Linked DNA regions of Homo sapiens: regions 2, 3 and 4 are each linked to region 1. The links are contacts of gene promoters, found by promoter capture Hi-C in human tissues and cell types (Jung and others, 2019). All regions are on one chromosome and are shown on one strand. Each heading gives the region's core, a stretch centred on a gene start or on the middle of the fragment in contact. The rest is flanking DNA. Distances are from core to core; before and after follow the strand shown.

Region 1 (2,600 bases), core at 27-2,526:
GCCTGGGAGACAGCGCAAGACTCTAGCTCAAACAAACAAACAAACAAAACAGCAACAACAACAACAAAACCATCCTCCCCTCCCGAGGGGACAGAACAGAAACGAATGGGCGAGTGCCGGGCCAAGCAGTGGGTCTCCAGCAGGTGGCATTAAAATAGGAATTTTGGCTGGGGACGGTGGCTCACACCTGTAATCTCAGCACTTTGGAAAGCCCAGGCGGGCGGTCACCTGAGGGCAGAACCAGCCTCGCCAACATGGTGAAATGCCATCTCTACTAAAAATAAAAAATTAGCCAGGCCTGGTGGTGGGTGTCTGTAATCCCAGCAACTCGGGAGGCTGAGGCAGGAGAATCGCTTGAACCAGGGGGGCAGAGGTTGCAATGAGTCAAGATTGCACCACCGCACTCCAGCCTGCGTAACAAGAGCGTGTAACTCTTGTCTCAAAAATAAATTAAATAAATAAATAATAAAAATAAAAAAGAATCTTCATTCATGGGAAGTCGAGAACACATGAAAACAAGTAAAGGCCGAAGCGCAGTGGCTCACGCCTGTAATCCCAGCACTTTGGGAGGCTGAGGCGGGCGGATAACCTGAGGTCGGAAGTTCGAGACCAGCCTGACCAACAGGGAGAAACCCCGCCTCTACTAAAAATACAAAATTAGCCGGGCATGGCGGTGCATGCCAGTAGTCCCAGCTACTCGGGAGGCTGAGGCAGGAGAATCGCTTGAACCCGGAATGTGGAGGTTGTGGTGAGCTGAGATCGGGCAATTGCACTCCAGCCTGGGCAACAAGAGCGAAACCCTGTATCAAAAAAAAAAAAAAGAAAAAAAAAGGAAGAAAAGGCCTAAAGGCGCCGGGCGCGGTGGGTCACGCCTGTAATCCCAGCACTTTGGGAGGCCGAGGCGGGCGAATCACGAGGTCAGGAGATCGAGACCAGGTGAAACCCCGTCTCTACTAAAAATACAAAAAAATTAGCCGGGCGTGGTGGTGGGCGCCTGTAGTCCCAGCTACTCGGGAGGCTGAGGCAGGAGAACAGCGTGAACCCGGAAAGCGGAGCTGGCAGTGAGCTGAGATCGCGCCACTGCACTCCAGCCTGGGTGACAGAGCGAGACTCCGTCTCAAAAAAAAAAAAAAAAAAAAAAAGAAAGAAAGGGCCTAAAGGCTCCTCGCGGCTTCCGTATTACGGAACACACGCACAAAAATGGCGGCGACCTGGTTTACAGGGGCTAAAAATGGTCACGTGATAAACCAACTTCCGGTCTTTCGCCCAAAGCACGTTCCCTACTTCCTGTGCTCTTGCGGAGACGCGCGCGTCGGGGTTTAACGCGTTTCTGGGCCGCCGTAAGCCCGGCCTAGGGGCAGCTTTGACTCGAGAGCCGGCTATAGGCGCATGGAAGGTTCCCTGGAACGGGAGGCGCCAGCGGGGGCGCTGGCCGCCGTGCTAAAGCACAGCTCGACGTTGCCGCCCGAAAGCACCCAGGTCCGGGGCTACGACTTCAACCGCGGTGTGAATTACCGCGCACTGCTGGAGGCCTTCGGCACCACCGGCTTCCAAGCAACCAACTTCGGGCGCGCTGTACAGCAAGTCAATGCCATGGTGAGGACCGGGCGGAATTTCTAGGGACGCGGAGGGGCGTGGCTTGTAGAACCAACGCGGTACTAGACGGGGGCAGCGTTTCCAGTGGAGGGGATATGTCTTTTATTTGAGTTGCCCAATAGTTGGAGGAAGGCGGGACCTATTCTGGGCGGGAGTTTCTGTCCTGGGAAGGGGATTTTGCACTCTGGTAGTTACATGCTGGTACGGTAACCTGAGGAGGCGAGGACTGATTCTTGGTGTGGGGGCGGGTTCTAGGTACATTTAAAGCTTTCTGGAATGGGCGGAGCCTGGGGCAAGACAAATTAAGGGAGGATATGGGAGGAGGAGCCTAAGTCTGGGCGGTTCTTGAATTTAGATTTGCTTTTCCCAGCGGGGAAGGGACCGGATCTGAAAGGAGATGCTCTCTGATTCCTAAAAGGGTGGGGGCTGGCTGGGCGCGGTGGCGCATGCCTATAATCCCAGCATTTTGGGAAGCCGAGGCGGGTGGATCAAGAGAAGAGGAGTTCGAGACAAGCCTGGCCAACATGGTGAAACCCTGTCTCTACTAAAATGCAAAAAATTAGCCGGGCATGGTGTTGCGCGCCTGTAGTCCCAGCTACTCGGGAGGCTGAGGCAGGAGAATCGCTTGAACCCGCGAGGTGGAGGTTGCAGTGAGCTGAGATTGCGCCACTGCACTCCAGCCTGGTGACAGAGCGATACTCTGTCTCAAAAAAAAAAAAAAAAAAAGGCCGGGCACGGTGGCTCATGCCTGTAATCTCAGCATTTTGGGAGGCCGAGGCGGGCGGATCACCTGAGGTCGGGAGTTCGAGACCAGCCTGACCAACATGGAGAAACCCCGTCTCTACTAAAATGCAAAAAATTAGCCGGGCATGGTGGTGCGCGCCTGTAGTCCCAGCTACTCGGGAGGCTGAGGCAGGAGAATCGCTTGAACCCGGGAGGTGGAGCTTGCAGTGAGCCGAGATCGCGCCATTGCACTCTAGCCTGGGTAACAAGAGTGAAACTCC
Region 2 (2,600 bases), core at 57-2,556, 810 kb after region 1:
GCTGACCTCAAGTGATCCACCTGCCTCGGCCTCCCAAAGTGCTGGGATTACAGGTGTGAGCCACCATGCCTGGCCAGGTTTCACTGCCCTGTCTTCCCTGTTCTGAGTTACTTTGTGTGATCCGACAATCAATGACTCCTCCCTTCACTGATGTGGATACATTATCTGGGACTGGGTGTGTCACCTCCACACACAGACAGGGCTTGGTCAGTGATTGATTCTGCATCCTGTGGTGCCTAGATTTAGACTATAAGGATTTTAAATAACTGTTTCTGAAGAGCAGCTTCACTGGACCTTACAGGAAGTGACAGAATTGTTCTAGCCATTGCATTATATATAAAAGTGACTTTTCCATGTTACCGTTAACTTTACACTGCTGAGATAAGCAGGCTGTTGACAAGTTAGCATCAACAGCACATTATCAGAGGAAGAAAGGCTTTTATTTAGACAATTTACACAAATTTATTAGCCTCCTATGACTCAGTAAAGCAATTTGAAAAAAATATAGCTTTATAAAGCGTAAATGAATTTATATATTTTAACTAAGGTACCTTCTAGTTAACAGTGCCCATACATTTTAGAAAATGTTTTAGTCTTTACAGAATAAGTAAGGCAAAAACAGGTCCAGAAGTCTATAGCTGACCTCCCCTCACCACAAGGCCAAGTTGTTTTTGTTTTTGTTTTTGTTTTTTCAGAAAGAGTTTCGCTCTTGTTGACTAGGCTGGAGTGCAATGATGGGATCTCGGCTCACTGCAACCTCTGCCTGCCAGATTCAAGTGATTCTCCTTTCTCAGCCTCCTGACTAGCTAGGATTACAGAAGCATGCCACCATGGCTGACTAAGTTTTGTATTTTTAGATGAGACAGGGTTTCATCATATTGGTCAGGGTGTTCTCGAACTCCTGACCTCAGGTGATCTGCCTGCCTCAGCCTCCCAATGTGCTGGGTTTTCAGGTGTGAGCCACCACACCCAGCCAAGGCCAAGTCTTTTACTGTTGGAGAGACACATGTTACATATCAGGCATATGAGATGATGCTCCTCAGTGATCATGATGGACCAGGACAAAAACAAGGGCATTTTGTAACTGTATTTCTAAAACTGATAGAAGTAAACATATTTCAAATCATAAACATGACGAAAATTTTTATCTTCTTACCAATGTGACTTGTAATTCTCATACATCCCACAGTCATTTATGTCTTCTGGTCATATTTATCACTATGGTATATTACACCCTTGCTGACAGCAGGTATGGCGCTGCTGGTTTTGGGCAAGAAGGTACTCAGAGATACATGAGATAACTTTTGGTATTATGAGTGAAAGAAAAATTAGGGTTGAGGCTGGGCGCAGTGGCTCATGTCTGTAAATCCAGCACTTTGAGAGGCCGAGGCAGGAGGATCACAAGGTCCAGAGTTCGAGACCAGCCTGGCCAATATGGTGAAACCCCGTCTCTACTAAATAATACACATAATTAGCTGGGTGAAGTGGTGCATGCCTGTAGTCCCAGCTACTCAAAAGGCTGAAGAAGGAGAATTGTTCAAACCTGGGAAGCAGAGATTGCAGTGAGCCAAGATCACACCACTGCACTCCAGCCTGGGCAACAGAGTGAGGCTCTTTCTAAAAAAAAAAAAAAAAAAAAAAGAAAAAGAAAAAGCAAAAGGAAAAAAAAAGAAAAATTACAGTTGAAATAAAAATTAAAGTACATAAGCATGAAAAGTAAAGTTTACATGAGGAAAAATATGCCTGGCATTTAATCCAGGTAATGCTGATTCACAATATCCAAATAATAACAATGTAACATTATAAGCTTGATCTAATACATGACACCAATGGATATTTTATTATAGCTTCTTAATTATTTAAAAAGAATAACATTTGTTAGTATACAGTTATTATAAACAGTTAATTGTTTACATTCATTATTTGTATTCAAAGAATCCTAGCCGATCTGAAGGCTTTCCCATACTGCTTACATTCATAGAGTTTCTGCCAAGTGTGAGTGCTTCCATGCATTTGAAGTCTTGAGGCTGATCTGACGGCTTTCCCACATTGCTTACATTGATACGGTTTCTCCCCAGTGTGAGTCCTTTCATGATATTGAAAAGAACTGGAAGAAGTGAAAGCTTTTGCCACATTGCTTACATTCATAGGGTTTCCTTCTGGTGTGTCTTTACATGTCTATGAAAGCAATTAAGCAAGCTGAATGCTTTCCCACAATCCTTACATTCATACGGATTCTCTCTCGTATGAGTCCTTTCATGTATATGCAAGGAAGAAAAATAATTGAATGCTTGTTTGCATTCCTTACATTCATAGGTTTCTCTCCAGTGTGTGTTTTGCATGTATTCAAACGATCTTGGCAGATATGAATGCTTTCCCACAATGCTTACATTCTTAGGGCGCCTCTCCTCTGTGCAACTTTCATGTATTTGAAAAGAAGAGAAATTATGGAACGCTTTTCCACATTTCTTACATTCATAGGGTTTCTCTCCAGTGTGTGTCCTTTCATAAATTGAAAGGTTCTTGACAGATCTGAAGACTTTCCCACATTGCTTACACTCATAGAGTTTTTCTCCACTGTGAGTCCTTTTAGATATCGA
Region 3 (2,600 bases), core at 37-2,536, 620 kb after region 1:
GTCCAGGATGCAGTGAGCCGTGATCGCGCCATGCACTCCAACCTGGGCGACAGAGTGAGACCTTGTTTAAAAAACAATTTTTAGCCGGGCCAGGTGGCTCACGCCTGTAATCCTAGCCCTTTAGGAGGCCGATGCGGGCGGATCACCTGAGGTCAGGAGTTCAAGACCACCTTGGCCAACACGGTGAAACCCCGTCTTTACTGAAAATACAGAAATCAGCAGGGCGTGGTGGCGTGCCTGTAACCCCAGCTACTAGGGAAGCTGAGCAGAAGAATCGCTTGAATCCGGGAGGCAGAGGTTGCACTGAGCCCAGATCGTGTCATTGCACTCCAGCCTGGGCAAAAAAGAGCGAGACTCTGTCTTAAAAAAAAAAAAAAAAATTGTAAGAAAAAAATATTAAAGAAAAATCCCTAACTATAAGCCTTCGGGGAGACTGATTTGAGTGCTAACTCTGTCTCCGTCTTCGGCGTTGCGTGGTCCATCTCGTGTCAAACATTTTCTTTACTGCAATGCCCTGGTCTTTCTTTTTGCAGCACAGGCAGGAAGAACCCCTCAGGCGATTACAACAACAAAGCATCTAGTACACATTGATCATGATGTGAACAAAAACACGACAGCAGTTGCCAAGCTCTAAGCCACAGACAGCAGGGAAAACATTTATCCGCTGTCACAAGTTCTCCACGCTAGGCCAGGCGCGGTGGCTCACGCCTCTATTCCCAGCACCGGGCCTGTTTAAGTTTTAACAGGAGAAAGGGGGCACTGAGGGCCTCACAGCGCAGCTCCTCCCGCACGAGCCCCACACCCAAGGCGGGATTGCCCCCATGACCCTCCCGTGGCCCCGCACAATATGGAGAGGCTCCGGGCTGCGGGCGCGGAGCTGTCCAGAGAGGGCTCCCGGGCTGGGGCCGCAGTCGCCGCGCGGCGACGAGACAGGGCGCCCAGGGGTCCCGGCTGCCGGCCCAGCCGCACCCGGCGGCCGAATGGACCGAAGGCCGAGCTGCGCCAGCGGGGCTCGGGCCCCAGACCTCGAGTCGCCGCGGGGAGGTCCGGGTCCCGGCACAGCCGGTTCCAGCCAGTTCCAACCAGCCTCCGCCTACCCTCCCCCAAGTCTCGGGACTCCCAGCGGGGGCTCACACTCACCATTTCCTGGCTTTCAGGTGACTCCCACGTCCAAAGCAGTCACAACACAGACGACAGGGCGACAGAAGTATGGCGGTGGCAACCGGTCCCTCTCAGAGCAGGAAAAACGGGGTGCCAACCTCACCCGGCGGGAGGGGCCAAAGACTGAGGCGAACGGCAATGTGACCCGCGGATAAACAGTTGGCCGGGCCCCACCCCGGCGACTCTGATTGGGTGGAGCGCCAGGCCCCGCCCCCTGCATCCTGAGTGACAGCAGAAGTCCTGGGTAACAGGGCCAAGCAGAGCAGGACTGACCGCTTCAAGCCACAGTCCAAGGTCAAGTTCCCTCTCTACGCCCTGCTCTTTGAAAATTTGCATTTCGGCCAAACTTGCTCGTCTTAATTACTAGAAGTGGCTCTGTCAATGGTCTGTCCCTGCTTCTTCGTCCTGCACAGTGTCATAAGTGTGTGCAGGGAGTTCCAGACTCTATGTTTAATAGAGGTGAAAGCAATTAAAATATTTTATTCCAAAATATATTTATTTGGCAATTTCGAATGGCTGCAGCTTTGCCCTTGCACAACTGTCTTCTGGGGGGTGAAATTTGCGTCTATGGAGTATTTCCATTAGTGAAGCCATGCCCCCTCTCCCCTTTTCCCTTTCCCTGATCCGGGAGAAATTGAGAGTCTGACACTTTTAAAAGTCTGGAAAGCCGGGCGCGGCGGCTCACGCCTGTAATTTCAGCACTTTGGGAGGCCGAGGCGGGTATATCACCTGTGGTCGGGAGTTCGAGACCAGCCTGGCCAACATGGTGAAACCACATCTCTACTAAAATACAAAATATTAGCCAGTCGTGGTGGCGGACGCCTGTAATCCTAGCTATGTGGGAGGCTGAGGCAGGAGAATCACTTGAAGCTGGGAGGCGGAGGTTGCAGTGAGCCGAGATCATGCCACTGGACTCCAGCCTGGGCAACAAGAATGAAACTCCGTCTCAAAAAAAACAAAAACAAAAAAAGTCTGGAAAGAGGCCAGGCAAGGTGGCTGGGGCCTGTAATACCAGCACTTTAGGAGGCCAGGGCAGGAGAATCACTTTGGCCCAGGAGTCGAGGGCTGCAGTGAGCTGTGATTGCACCAGTACACTCCAGCCTGGGCAACAGAGTGAGACCAAAAAACAAAATAAGTAAGAAATTCTGGTTTTGCTTTTTTTTTTTTTTTTTTTTGAGATGGTGTCTTGCTCTGTTGCCCAGGCTGGAGTGAGTGACGCGATCTCGGCTCACCGCAAGCTCCGCCTCCCGGGTTCACGCCATTCTCCTGTCTCAGCCTCCCGAGTAGCTGGGACCACAGGCGCCTGCCACCATGCCTGGCTAATTTTTTGTGCTTTTAGTAGAGACGGGGTTTCACCGTGTTAGCCACGATGGTCTCGATCTCCTGACCTCGTGATCCGCCCGTCTCGGCCTCCCAAAGTGCTGGGATTACAGGCGTGA
Region 4 (2,600 bases), core at 64-2,563, 540 kb after region 1:
ATTACAGGTGGGCTCTACCACACCCGGCTAATTTTTGTATTTTTAGTAGAGACGGGATTTCACCATGTTGGTCACGCTGGTCTCCAACTCCTGATCTCAGGTGATCCAGCCACCTCGCCCTCCCAAAGTGCTGGGATTACAGGCTTGAGCCACAGCGCCCAGCCACTACTGCCTCACTTTCATGCAGTTAAATAATCTTGGACACTTCCTCCTCGACTTTATACATACACACTGGAGGAGAGCTTTGCTCGTGTGTTATTCTCGCAGTGGGATTGAGGATGTTTGTCTCATGGAAACTGATGAATGATGTGAGAAGCAGGTGAATAACCTGCAGGGGGCAGCAGAGACCGACGCCAGGGACGGGACGCTGAGGCTAGTATGGATCCTGCCAAGGAGTGAAGTGGAGTTCTGGGTGCTTCCTGGGCAGCCGCCCTCCCCTGCAGGTGGCTTGCAGCTGCTCAGAGCAGATCCAGAAAGAGTGTGGGTTCTGACATGCTGCAGCGCCCTGGAAAGCAGGAGACCCACGTGCAGGTGCACTTCAGGAGTTCTGTCCTTTCTGCGGCTGTACATCTGGAATCTGGGGCGGTTTTCGGGAGCAGTGTTTTGGGTTTGACATGCATAGAGTCCCTGGGGTCAGACTGTAATTTGCATATCTGAAGAAAATCCGTAAAGATCAAGTTCAGGGAAATAACTGTTTGGGACCTCTCCTGGAGAAGGGGCTTATGCAGTTGACAGTTTATTTAGGTCAGAAGCTTAAAATCACCAAGTGAGAGTTTTCTGCCGATGAAGATGAAGGTCTGGAAGGAGGGAGAGTTTCCACACTGTGAGGTGGGGTGAGATGTGTGAAAGCCTTGGCCATGTCTCATCCCTAATTCCGGGCCCCTGAAGGACAACTGCCTCTCCTTCTTGGTGCAGTCGTGCCTGGCCTGATCTGGGCTCCCCTTCCTGCTCTGAGGTCAGCACATCGCTCCATTGGACACTCAGTCTGGAATTCCCTGCACACACTTACAACCCTGTGCAGGACGAAGAAGCACTGACAGCCCATTGAATGAGGAAGAAGATAGTGCCCTGTGTAAAAATCAGGAGCAAATTTGGCTGAAAAGAAAATATCCAATGACCAGGGCTCAGGGAAGGAGTTGTCCCTTAGAGAGAAGCTGTGGCTAGAACCGATCAGTCCGGCTTTGCAGGGCTCGTTACCCAGGGCTTCTGCCGTCACTCAGTTCTGAGGGGGCGGGGCCTTGTACCTTGTCCAATCAGAAGCGCCGGGGCGGAGCCCGGCCAACGGTCCGTCCGGAAGGAGGAGGCCCATTCCAGCTTCTACTTTTGTTGCTATGCAGGTTGTTGTCGGGATACCAGATTTCCTACTCCGAGAGGCCCCGGGTCCCTCTGCCACAACTTCTGTCGCTCTGCCGCCTGCACCGTGACCCGCACTATTCACGGGAGCCCTAGAGAGGACACCGGGACACCCAGAAGCCGGGAAATGGTGAGTGTATGGGGCCGGAGTCCCCAGACGGGGGAGGGGCTGGGTGGAACCGGCCGGAAGCGGCTGTGGTGGGATCTGGGCCTCCTCGCCGCGCCTCCTGGATCTGGGACCCGAATCCCTCTGTCTCAGCTCGTCCCTGCGTCCCCTCGGCCGCAGGGTGCGGCTGGGCCGGCAGCCGGGACCCCGGGCGTCCTCCTGTTCTGTTCCTGCGCGGGCGACTGTGGGCCCCGACCCTGGAGCCCTCTCTGGGCAGCTCCGCGCCTGCAGCCCCGCGTCTCTTCAGATTTTGCGGGGACCACGGGAGGGTCATGGGGGAATCCTGCGGATTTTTTTTTCTGTTAAAGAGTTTGGGCCGGGCGCGGTGGACCATGCTTGTAATCCCAGCACTTTGGGAGGCCGAGGCTTGCGGATCACGAAGTCAGGAGATCGAGACCATCCAGGCTAACACAGTGAAACCCCGTCTCTACTAAAAATACAAAAAATTAGCCGGGCATGGTGGCATGCGCCTGTAGTCCCCGCTACTCAGGAGGCTGAAGCAGGAGAATCGCATGACCCCAGGAGACGAAGGTTGCAGTGAGCCGAGATCACGCCACTGCACTCCAACCTAGGGGACAGAGCGAGATTCCATCTCAAAAAAAAAAAAAAATTTAAAGAGTTTGAGCAAACAGCGATTCATGAGTGAGAAACGCCCAGTCATGATTTGTGGTTTTGGTACCAGAAAGTTTTAAGAAGAATTGCATTTTGTTAACGGTGGAGGGGGTCCAGGTTCTTGGCGTCTTGAACAAAGAATTGGACAAAACGCACAAAGCAAGGAAGGAATGAAGGGATTTAACACTCCACAGTGTGCAAGCGGGGCTGAGCACAGGGGCTCAAAGGCCCCGTTACAGAATTTTTGGGAGTTTAAATACCCCCTGGAGGATTCCATTGGTTACTTGGGGTATACTCTATGTAAAAGGAGAGGATGAAGTAAGGTTATAAAATCATTTACTTGGCTTACGCCCTATGGAGTAGGTATTTCCTTTCATAGCTGAAGTTTGAATAGGCCTTATGTTCCCTGCGTCCAGACCCTATTTTCCTGCCTCAATTTGAGTTTGATTTTGGTGTCCTTAGGTAGTTT

Evidence for each region. The method cuts DNA at HindIII sites, captures the fragments that hold promoters and counts their contacts. A contact is called where the count stands out against the background at its distance.
Region 2: a contact is called between a fragment that was not itself captured here and the fragment with the promoter of DHPS in region 1, in 1 of the 25 tissues and cell types used here (dorsolateral prefrontal cortex).
Region 3: the fragment with the promoter of ZNF844 here is called in contact with the fragment with the promoter of DHPS in region 1 in 1 of the 25 tissues and cell types used here (spleen).
Region 4: a contact is called between the fragment with the promoter of ZNF20 here and the fragment with the promoter of DHPS in region 1, in 1 of the 25 tissues and cell types used here (stomach).

The regions. Positions count from the first base shown.
Region 1 is chr19:12,680,556-12,683,155 of GRCh38, reverse strand. DHPS (deoxyhypusine synthase) reads left to right here and starts at 1,276. Exons shown (of 9, transcript NM_001930.4): 1 at 1,276-1,596. The coding sequence starts at 1,390. RefSeq lists enhancers at 1-55, 579-1,101, 1,167-1,461, 1,102-1,625 and cis regulatory regions at 985-1,519, 1,545-2,045. The HindIII fragment of the contact is 10,903 bases long and covers 1-2,600 here.
Region 2 is chr19:11,868,695-11,871,294 of GRCh38, reverse strand. ZNF439 (zinc finger protein 439) reads right to left here. Exons shown (of 4, transcript NM_001348719.2): 4 at 1,809-2,600. Among named protein-coding and RNA genes, the nearest start is that of ZNF69, 18 kb to the left of the region's middle. The HindIII fragment of the contact is 4,163 bases long and covers 1-2,600 here.
Region 3 is chr19:12,063,417-12,066,016 of GRCh38, reverse strand. ZNF844 (zinc finger protein 844) reads right to left here and starts at 1,286. Exons shown (of 4, transcript NM_001136501.3): 1 at 1,141-1,286. The coding sequence starts at 1,143. RefSeq lists a silencer at 842-1,021 and an enhancer at 1,112-1,201. The HindIII fragment of the contact is 18,413 bases long and covers 1-2,600 here.
Region 4 is chr19:12,139,063-12,141,662 of GRCh38, reverse strand. ZNF20 (zinc finger protein 20) reads left to right here and starts at 1,313. Exons shown (of 4, transcript NM_021143.4): 1 at 1,313-1,483. The coding sequence starts at 1,481. ZNF625-ZNF20 (ZNF625-ZNF20 readthrough (NMD candidate)) reads left to right here. Exons shown (of 8, transcript NR_037802.1): 5 at 1,338-1,483. RefSeq lists a silencer at 1,527-1,736. The HindIII fragment of the contact is 9,607 bases long and covers 1-2,600 here.